Regions from separate parts of the Homo sapiens genome. Here region 2 is linked to region 1. The links are contacts of gene promoters, found by promoter capture Hi-C in blood cells and fetal thymus (Javierre and others, 2016). All regions are on one chromosome and are shown on one strand. The core of a region is centred on a gene start or on the middle of the fragment in contact, and the rest is flanking DNA. Distances in the headings are between cores, read along the strand shown.

Region 1 (4,007 bases), core at 599-3,098:
GAGCTCAGGAGTTCCAGAGGAGCCTGGGCAACATAGTGAGACCCCATGTCTACCAAAAATACAAAAATTAGCTGGGTGTGGTGGCGCACGCGCCTGTAGTCACAGCTGCTTCGGAAACTGAGATGGTACACTCGCTTGAGCCCAGGAGTTTGAGGCCGCAGTGAGCTATGATCAGGCCACTGCACTCCTGCACTCCAGCCTCAGCGACAGAGGGAGACCCTGTGTCAAAAACAAAAACAAAACAAAACAAAAAGCAGGGGGGGCCTGACACGGTGGCTCAGGCCTGTAATCCTAGCACTTTGGGAGGCTGAGGTGGGTGGATTGCCTGAGCTCAGGAGTTCAAGACCAGCCTGGGCAATGTGGTGACATGGTGAAACCCTGTCTCTACAAAATACAAAAAATTAGCCGGGTGTGGTGGCGGGCTTCTGTAATACCAGCTACTCGGGAAGCTGAGACAGGAGAATCACTTGAACCCGGGAGGTGCAGGTTGCAGTGAGCTGAGATTGTGCCGCCACTGCATTCCAGCCTGGGTGACAGAGCAAGACTCTGTATCCAAAAAAAAAAAGGACCAGACATATTGCATTGTTAACAAACTAGTTGTTAACCTTATGACCTCTGTAAAGGTCTCAGGGATTTCCAGAGGTCTGGGGACCACACTTTGAGAATCACTAGATTAAAAGGGGGAAAACATGGGAGGAAAAAAAGGTCACATAATGGAAACATACTGTTGGATTGAATTTCGTATATAAAAACCCTTTACTGAAATAAAGAGTAGAGACTTCAAGTACCAAGAGAAGCAGATTAGAAGAGGAGGAAGGCTCTAGGGACTGATCAGGTCTGGAGGCAGGGTTTTAAATGGGCCTTGAAGGGTTCGTGCAGTTTGGAAGGAAGGGATGGGAGGGAAAAGCTTGCTGAATCGTATAAATGAACAAGACCCTGATGGTGAGCTCTTGAGGATATGAAAGGCAAAAAGCACTAAGGCCGGGCTTTTGTTCCTCTGTGGCCCTGCATATATGAGGAGGTGATGAGTAATTCTATATTTTTATCAGCTTTACCGTTTAAAACTCCAAGGGAGGAAAACCCTTCAAACTGATAGGCTTGGGGCTTGGTGAAGGTGGGGTATTAGTGAAAAAGATGTGAAGTTTCTTTATCGAAAATACATGTATGTCCAAGAAATTCTCTGTAGATAAAAACTAACAAGAAAAAGAGTTTGTCAGAGAGGAAAAGTAGTTTTGCTAATTTATTTTTGATCATTTGCAAAGCCCATGGAAGTGTGTGGCAAGAGGATTGTGGTGTCTTAGGATATTCACATAGGTCTGAAACAAGGAAAACATACTTCTGTTGAAAGCACCATTCCAACATATTGTTATTAGCAGTCCCTGAACTAACGGGTAGTGGGTGGGTACTGTGTCCATCAGCTCAGCGAACCGCAATTGCCTCATTGACAGCAAGCCCAGCAAGGAATCACTTGGAATATTAATTTCCGTGGCCTTTCGCAATCACACGAAGCTTGGCTCCCTGCGCTTGCCGTAACGCGGCCTGTACCATTGCTTTCCGGGTGGCGGGGGGGATTTGGCAGCAGCGGAAGAAGGAGACCGGAGGGTGTGTGTTGGGCAAAGCCGGAGGCAGAGGAGGACGATTGTTTTACGGATCCCGTGATCGGCCCGTCCTTCTCCCCTTTCCCCCCCTCCCTACCGCCCCTGTCCCGCCGGGGAGCGGCGGCGGCCTTGGACTTTGCTGTCTTTCCTCGCGGAGACAGGTGAGTGTCGGCGCGCGGGCTCCCCGGGCTTCGCTCCCCACCCCCCGCGTCTCCGGGGCCGGTGGCGGCGGCCGGCCGGGGAGGCGGCCTCGGCGCACAGTAATGGCAGCGCTGTGAGCAGGGGAACGCGAGCTGACAGCCGCCGCCGCCGCCGCCTCCGCCCACCTTCCTCGCCGGGGCTTCGTCTTTCACTCCTTCGGGCTGCCTCCCCCTCCCCTTGTCCCCTGCCCCTTGCCCTGCTTCTGCAGAAGGTAACCCCGCTGAGGGTCGGGGAGCCGGGCTGCAGGCGCCGGGAAACTTCCCTTCCCGGTTAATGGGTGGCGGGGCTGGGGCGGAGGAGAGGAGTTGGGGGCGACGAGGTGTGGGGAGAGGGATGAAAGGGGGAGGCCCGGGAAGATGGTATCCTGTAAGTGACCTCGGCTCCCCAGAGCGCTGACCCGTAAGCCCTGCCACCCCCTGGACTGGATCCCGGGCCTCCCCAACCCGATCTTGGCCGCCTCTCCCGCGGCCCCATTTTCCTTCGAAGGAGGGAAGGTGAGAGTGCGTGTATTCTTCTACATATTTACGTGCTCACACGAATACACAACTCTGTGTGTTTGTGTGTGTGTGTGGGGGGGGGCATCTCATGCATCCTTACCCCGAGTGTTTTCACTTTTGTTTCCGCAGACTGCAAAGATTGATAGCTTTGGGGAGGAGTATCCTACGTGCATGCTAGACTTCTTGTCTCAACCCTTAGGGTCTGGTGAAATAAGATCCTCACACGCTTTCTAGCACTTGCTTACCCTCTAGAGAGTCTGGACCATTCCCTACCATTACGTGCATGCAAATAAAACATCTGTGAATTGCAGACTGTTATTAATGTTAAGTCCACATCTTTGCCCCATGGATTAATATTAACAGTTGAAGGCCAGTACCCTGGGCGTTTAAATTTTGAAGATAAGATGCAAAATATTAACGTTCGCTATAGATTGTGACTGTTCAACATAAACGTCTTTGAACTAGACCTGGCCAAGCCTACCTTCGTAGTAAAGTATCGGAAATAATCACTTTGATCTGATTGACAACTGACTACATAATAATCGCTTAAAAACATTCAAAACACTGTTGCCTACCCTTTAGAATCTTACATTCCTTTTCAAGACAGACACATGAACAAATGAGCTATACTTTGCTTCTTTTGCCCTTATACAGTATCTGGAAGATCCTTCCAAAAGAGTCGCGTGAGATAAGAGAAGTACACAGTTTTTTTGTTTTGAGATGGAGTTTTGCTCTTGTCACCCAGGCTGGAGTGCAGTGGTGCGATCTCGGCTCACTGCAACCTCCGCCTCCCGGGTTCAAGCAATTCTTCTGCCTTAGCCTTCCATGTAGCTGGGATTACTGGCATGCGCCACCATGCCCGGCTAATTTTGTATTTTTAGTGGAGATGGGGTTTCACCATGTTGGCCAGGCTGGTCTTGAACTCCTGACCTCAGGTGATTCGCCTGCTTAGGCCTCCCAAAGTGCTGGGATTACAGGCCTGAGCTACTGCGCCCAGCCCACAGTGTTTTGAATTACTTGTTTTTTTCAATTGCTGTTTATGAGTTGGGGGAACATTTCTACAATGTGCATGCACATAGCGTGGGAAAAATTCCTTTTCAATTGCTTTTTGAGTATTTGGATGTTCTCCTGCATCTGAAATACTCTTCATTCTCCATCCTTGCTGGTGGCTTTCAGTGTTCTATAAATGTGAAGATTATCCATGTCTTTTACCCTCACCAGTTTGTCACTAGATTAAACGTTATGGACCTTCTTTAAAGTCATTTTTGCGTTGTCTGGCAGTTGACAGATATTTATTAAGCACCTGGTTTATTTGTCAAGCAGGGCTGCAGGCATTAAGGTTACAAGGGTAAACAAGACACATTACATTTCTTTTTTTTTTTTTTTTTTTTTTGAGGCGGAGTCTCGCTCTGTCACCAGGCTGAAGTGCGGTGGCACGATCTGGGCTCACTGCAACCTCCCAGTTCAAGCAATTCTCCTGCCTCAGCCTCCTGAGTAGCTGGCACTACAGGCGCACGTCACCACGCCCAGCTAATTTTTGTATTTTTAGTAGAGACTGGGTTTCAACATGTTGGCCAGGGTGGTCTTGATCTCTTGACCTCATGATCCGCCCTCCTCAGCCTCCCAGAGTGCTGGGATTATAGGCGTGAGCCACCACACCTGTCCAACCCATTAAATTTCTATCCTCTTGGAGTGTCACTTCTGGCTTGGG
Region 2 (4,049 bases), core at 1,077-3,576, 1.8 Mb before region 1:
TGCTAGGGATCTGGTAGTACTTGGTTCTGGTTTCAGCTTTGTTGTGTATTAACTGTTTAATCATCGACAAAATCACTGACATCCAAACCTCTGTTCTTCACCCATGTGAGATCTTGTTGGAGCTGTGTTCAGGGTTACATAAAGCTGTGAATGAAAACGGCAGAGAAGAGAACCCAAACAGATAAACATAACAGCATCCCAGGGACACAAACAGCTAAAACAGGCAGTGATTACAACCAAAGTATTTATATGAAAGAACAGGTTCAAAGATGACATATCAGGACAGATTTCCATCACTGCAGACCAGTGATAGAAGGCTCCAGACTGGTTTAACGTAGGACATGAACCCATGTTTTGTCATCTGTGTCTCCTGAGCCATTGGAAAAAAGCTACAAGAAATTTTTGTGTTTATTGAGACATGAACAATGCATTGGGAGGACTTGTAAGAAAAACGAAGTCACTTTGGAAAAACTGATTTACTGTACTTTACTTTCCTTAAATACGAATTAAACCAGAGAGGCCATGCCAGCTACAAATTTACTAAGCCATACCAAATTCTTAAGGCAAATTGATAGTTTCATAGTCCTACAAACGGATCCTTGCCCAGAGGAAATAGTTTATTCCTTAGAAGCTTCACCATAGCCAAATGCACAGATTGAAAACTATTTGGTATGTGTACACCAAGTGCCGTTTAAAAGGAAGTCAATTTAGCAACAAGTAATATTTAAATACCAATTTTTGGAAATAGAAGAATAAACACATTTGTTTATCAATCTTAAACTTTCAGTTTAAGTGATATATTGTACTTTTTTTTTTTTTTTGAGACTGAATATCACTCTGTCTCCCAGGCTGGAGTGCAGTGGTGCGATCATAGGTCACTGCAGCTTCAACCTCTGGGCCTCAAGCTGTCCTCCCATCTCAGCCGCCCAAGTAGCTGGAACTACAGGCACGTGCCACCTGTAGAGACAAGGTCTCACTATATTGCCCTGGTTGGTCTATTGTACTTTTTCAAGGAAAGAAATGGGAAAATAATTTCCTAGTCTAAAACCTAACTTTAAAAAATGTAAAATATAAGACACATAGAAGAGACATGCAGTGTATATGTGGAGTTTACAAAAATAACATAAAATGTTGTTGTTTTTTTTTGAGACAGTTTCACTCTTGTTGTGCATGCTGGAGTACTATGATGCCATCTCAGATCACTGCCACCTCTGCCTCCCGGTTCAAGCAATTCTCCTGCCTCAGACTCCCGAGTAGCTGGGATTACAGGCGCCTGCCACCATGCCTGGCTAATTTTTTGTATTTTTAGTAGAGATGGCATTTCACCATGTTGGCCAGACTGGTCTCGAACTCCTGACCTCAGGTGATCCACCCGCCTCAGCCTCCCAAAGTGCTGGGATTACAGGCATGAGCCACCATGTCAGGCCAATAAAGTGTTACTGAGGCTGTATCAACCATGTGATGCAGTTGATTTGAGAAAATGTTTGGGGCCCCAGTACTCCCCTTTCAAATTGCATTGCTCTGCCTCCTCATCCCCACTAGAGGTAACTATCATCTAGAACTCAGTCTGAATAATAAACACACATGCGATGAGATTTAAAGTCACTTATCCATATATAATCGTATGACATAGGTGCATGTACCACCCTTCTTTAGATAAGGACACTGTGGCATAGAGATATTGGACAACTGACCAAGGTCAAGTAAGTCACGCAGTTAATTAGTGGTAGAGCTGGAAGCAGAGCAGTTTAATTCCCGAGTCTGCACTTAAAATCTCCATGTTTTCTTGCCGCTATAATCATTCACCATTCGTCAGTCACTTTCTCTTTTATATAGTTTTAACACATATAAATGTATTCCAAGGCTGGGCGCAGTGGCTCACGCCTGTAATCTCAGCACTTTGGGAGGTTGAGGCGGGCGGATCACCTGAGGTCAGGAGTTTGATACTAGCCTGGCCAACCTGATGAAACCCTGTCTCTATTAAAAATACAAAAATTAGCCGGGTATGGTGGCCCACGCCTGTAATCCCAGCTACTCGGGAGGCTGAGGTAGGAGAATCGCCTGAACCCAGGAGGCGGAGGTTGCAGTGACCCGAGATCCTGCCATTGCACATGGCTCACACCTATAATCCCAGCACTTTGGGAGGCCGTGGCGGGTGGATCACCTGAGGTCAGGAATTCAAGACCAGCCTGGCCAACATGGTGAAACCCCGTCTATACTAAAAATACAAAAATTAGCCGTGTGTAGTGGCACGTGCCAATAATCCCAGCTACTTGGGAGGCTGAGGTAGGAGAATCACTTGAACCCAGGAGGTGGAGGTTGTAGTGAGCCGAGATGGTTCCATTGCACTCCAGACTGGGCAACAAGAGCCAGACGCCATCCCAAACAAAAACGAACAAACAAAACAATAACAGAAACAAAAAAAGAAAATGTATTCCCAAACAAAATATTGTTTATTCTGGCCTATCTTTTATATTATGCAGATAGAGTCATGTTTAATGATTTTCTCTGTGACTTATTTTTATTCGTCAGTTTTTTTTTTCTGAGATTCATCAACTAGTTACTTGAAGCTCTAGCTCTTTAATTTTATTGCCAACTCTGATTCCATTGTATGAATAGTCTATTTTTTTCTATGTCCATTCTTTTGTTGATGTAGATTTTGAGCTGATTATAGTAATATTCTATTATGGACAATGCTGCCATACACATCCTTTTGTTTGAACATCACATAAGTTTATTTCAGGTATAAACACTGTTAAAATTGACAAGTTCAATTCTTTTTTTTTTTTTTTGAGACGGAGTCTCGCTCTGTCACCCAGGCTAGAGTGCAATGGCGCAATCTCGGCTCACTGCAACCTCCGCCTCCCGGGTTCACGCCATTCTCCTGCCTCAGCCTCCCGAGTACCTGGGACTACAGGTGCCTGCCACCACGCCCAGCTAATTTTTTGTATTTTTAGTAGAGGCGGGGTTTCACCATGTTAGCCAGGATGGTCTCGATCTCCTGACCTCGTGATCCGCTCACCTCAGCCTCCCAAAATGCTGGGATTATAGGCGTGAGCCACCGCGCCCGGCCGACAAGTTGAATTCTTAACTGTACCAAGTAAACAAAAGTTTAAGTGTTTTTTAAAGTTATTCCCTTCAAAAAACGGAGGGAGCTTTTCTTTTCCACTACCACACACCATGGTCCAATCATTCTCCTATTGGAGGACTTTTAAATTGATGAGTAAACTACTTTGGAGACATTTCAGAACTTCATTCCCCGAATGAAAACTAATCTGAACGAACTATATATTGCATAGATATCTCTACAGATTATTTTTTTAGAACCTAAATGCAATTTCCATAGAGTGTTACTTTAACCTATTTGCCATGCAGGAAAAAAACTATCTTTCTTGAAAAATATGATGAATATATCTTGTGATTTTCCAGTTAAAAAATTGTTTTACCTCAAAGATGTTAATCATCATATATCAAAATAACCAACTCAACATGGGACATTACTTCAGTCTTTACTGACTCACAGGCACATGAGCTTGTGTCCAGCTTATATGAACTCTTTCCCTCTTCCATACATAAATGGACCTATTTAATACAAGTTTGATGAAGGACAATTAACTATTTTTAAACACTTAAAATTTAGATTAAGTCATTAACTAATGTGCAAAGAGAAATTCTATAATGGTAAGAAGCCTACACATTCGATTCAACAATTTAATTTTTTTCCTCCTTAAATAACGTACTTAATTGCCATAAGGCAGTGAATTGGTTTTCATAGAAGCTGGGCACATGTAGGAATACACTCATAGGACTGATTAGATATTCCAGGTGAAATGGCTATAGAAACTGAGGCATATCATCTCAGAAAATGCATTTATATATCAAAATTTATTTCGATATCTGGAAAGTTTACAAAAAGGCTGCATACTTCAAACTAATTCTGCCTTCTTCTCTTGGCAAGAGTAAGCTGAAACTTACCCATGAAGGTGAAAGTGCTCAATGCTGAGCTTTTCTTCTAAGCTTAGGTTTGGACTGCTTAAGAAACTGATACC

What was found. The method cuts DNA at HindIII sites, captures the fragments that hold promoters and counts their contacts. A CHiCAGO score of 5 or more calls a contact.
Region 2: a contact is called between a fragment that was not itself captured here and the fragment with the promoter of CUL2 in region 1, in 1 of 17 cell types (total B cells). The highest score is 5.2, in total B cells.

The regions. Positions count from the first base shown.
Region 1 is chr10:35,088,182-35,092,188 of GRCh38, reverse strand. CUL2 (cullin 2) reads left to right here and starts at 1,848. Exons shown (of 21, transcript NM_003591.4): 1 at 1,848-2,010. RefSeq lists an enhancer at 1,428-1,567 and silencers at 1,486-1,674, 1,728-1,927, 1,948-2,077. The HindIII fragment of the contact is 6,346 bases long and covers 1,512-4,007 here.
Region 2 is chr10:36,868,847-36,872,895 of GRCh38, reverse strand. No RefSeq gene overlaps it. Among named protein-coding and RNA genes, the nearest start is that of ANKRD30A, 250 kb to the left of the region's middle. The HindIII fragment of the contact is 3,386 bases long and covers 634-4,019 here.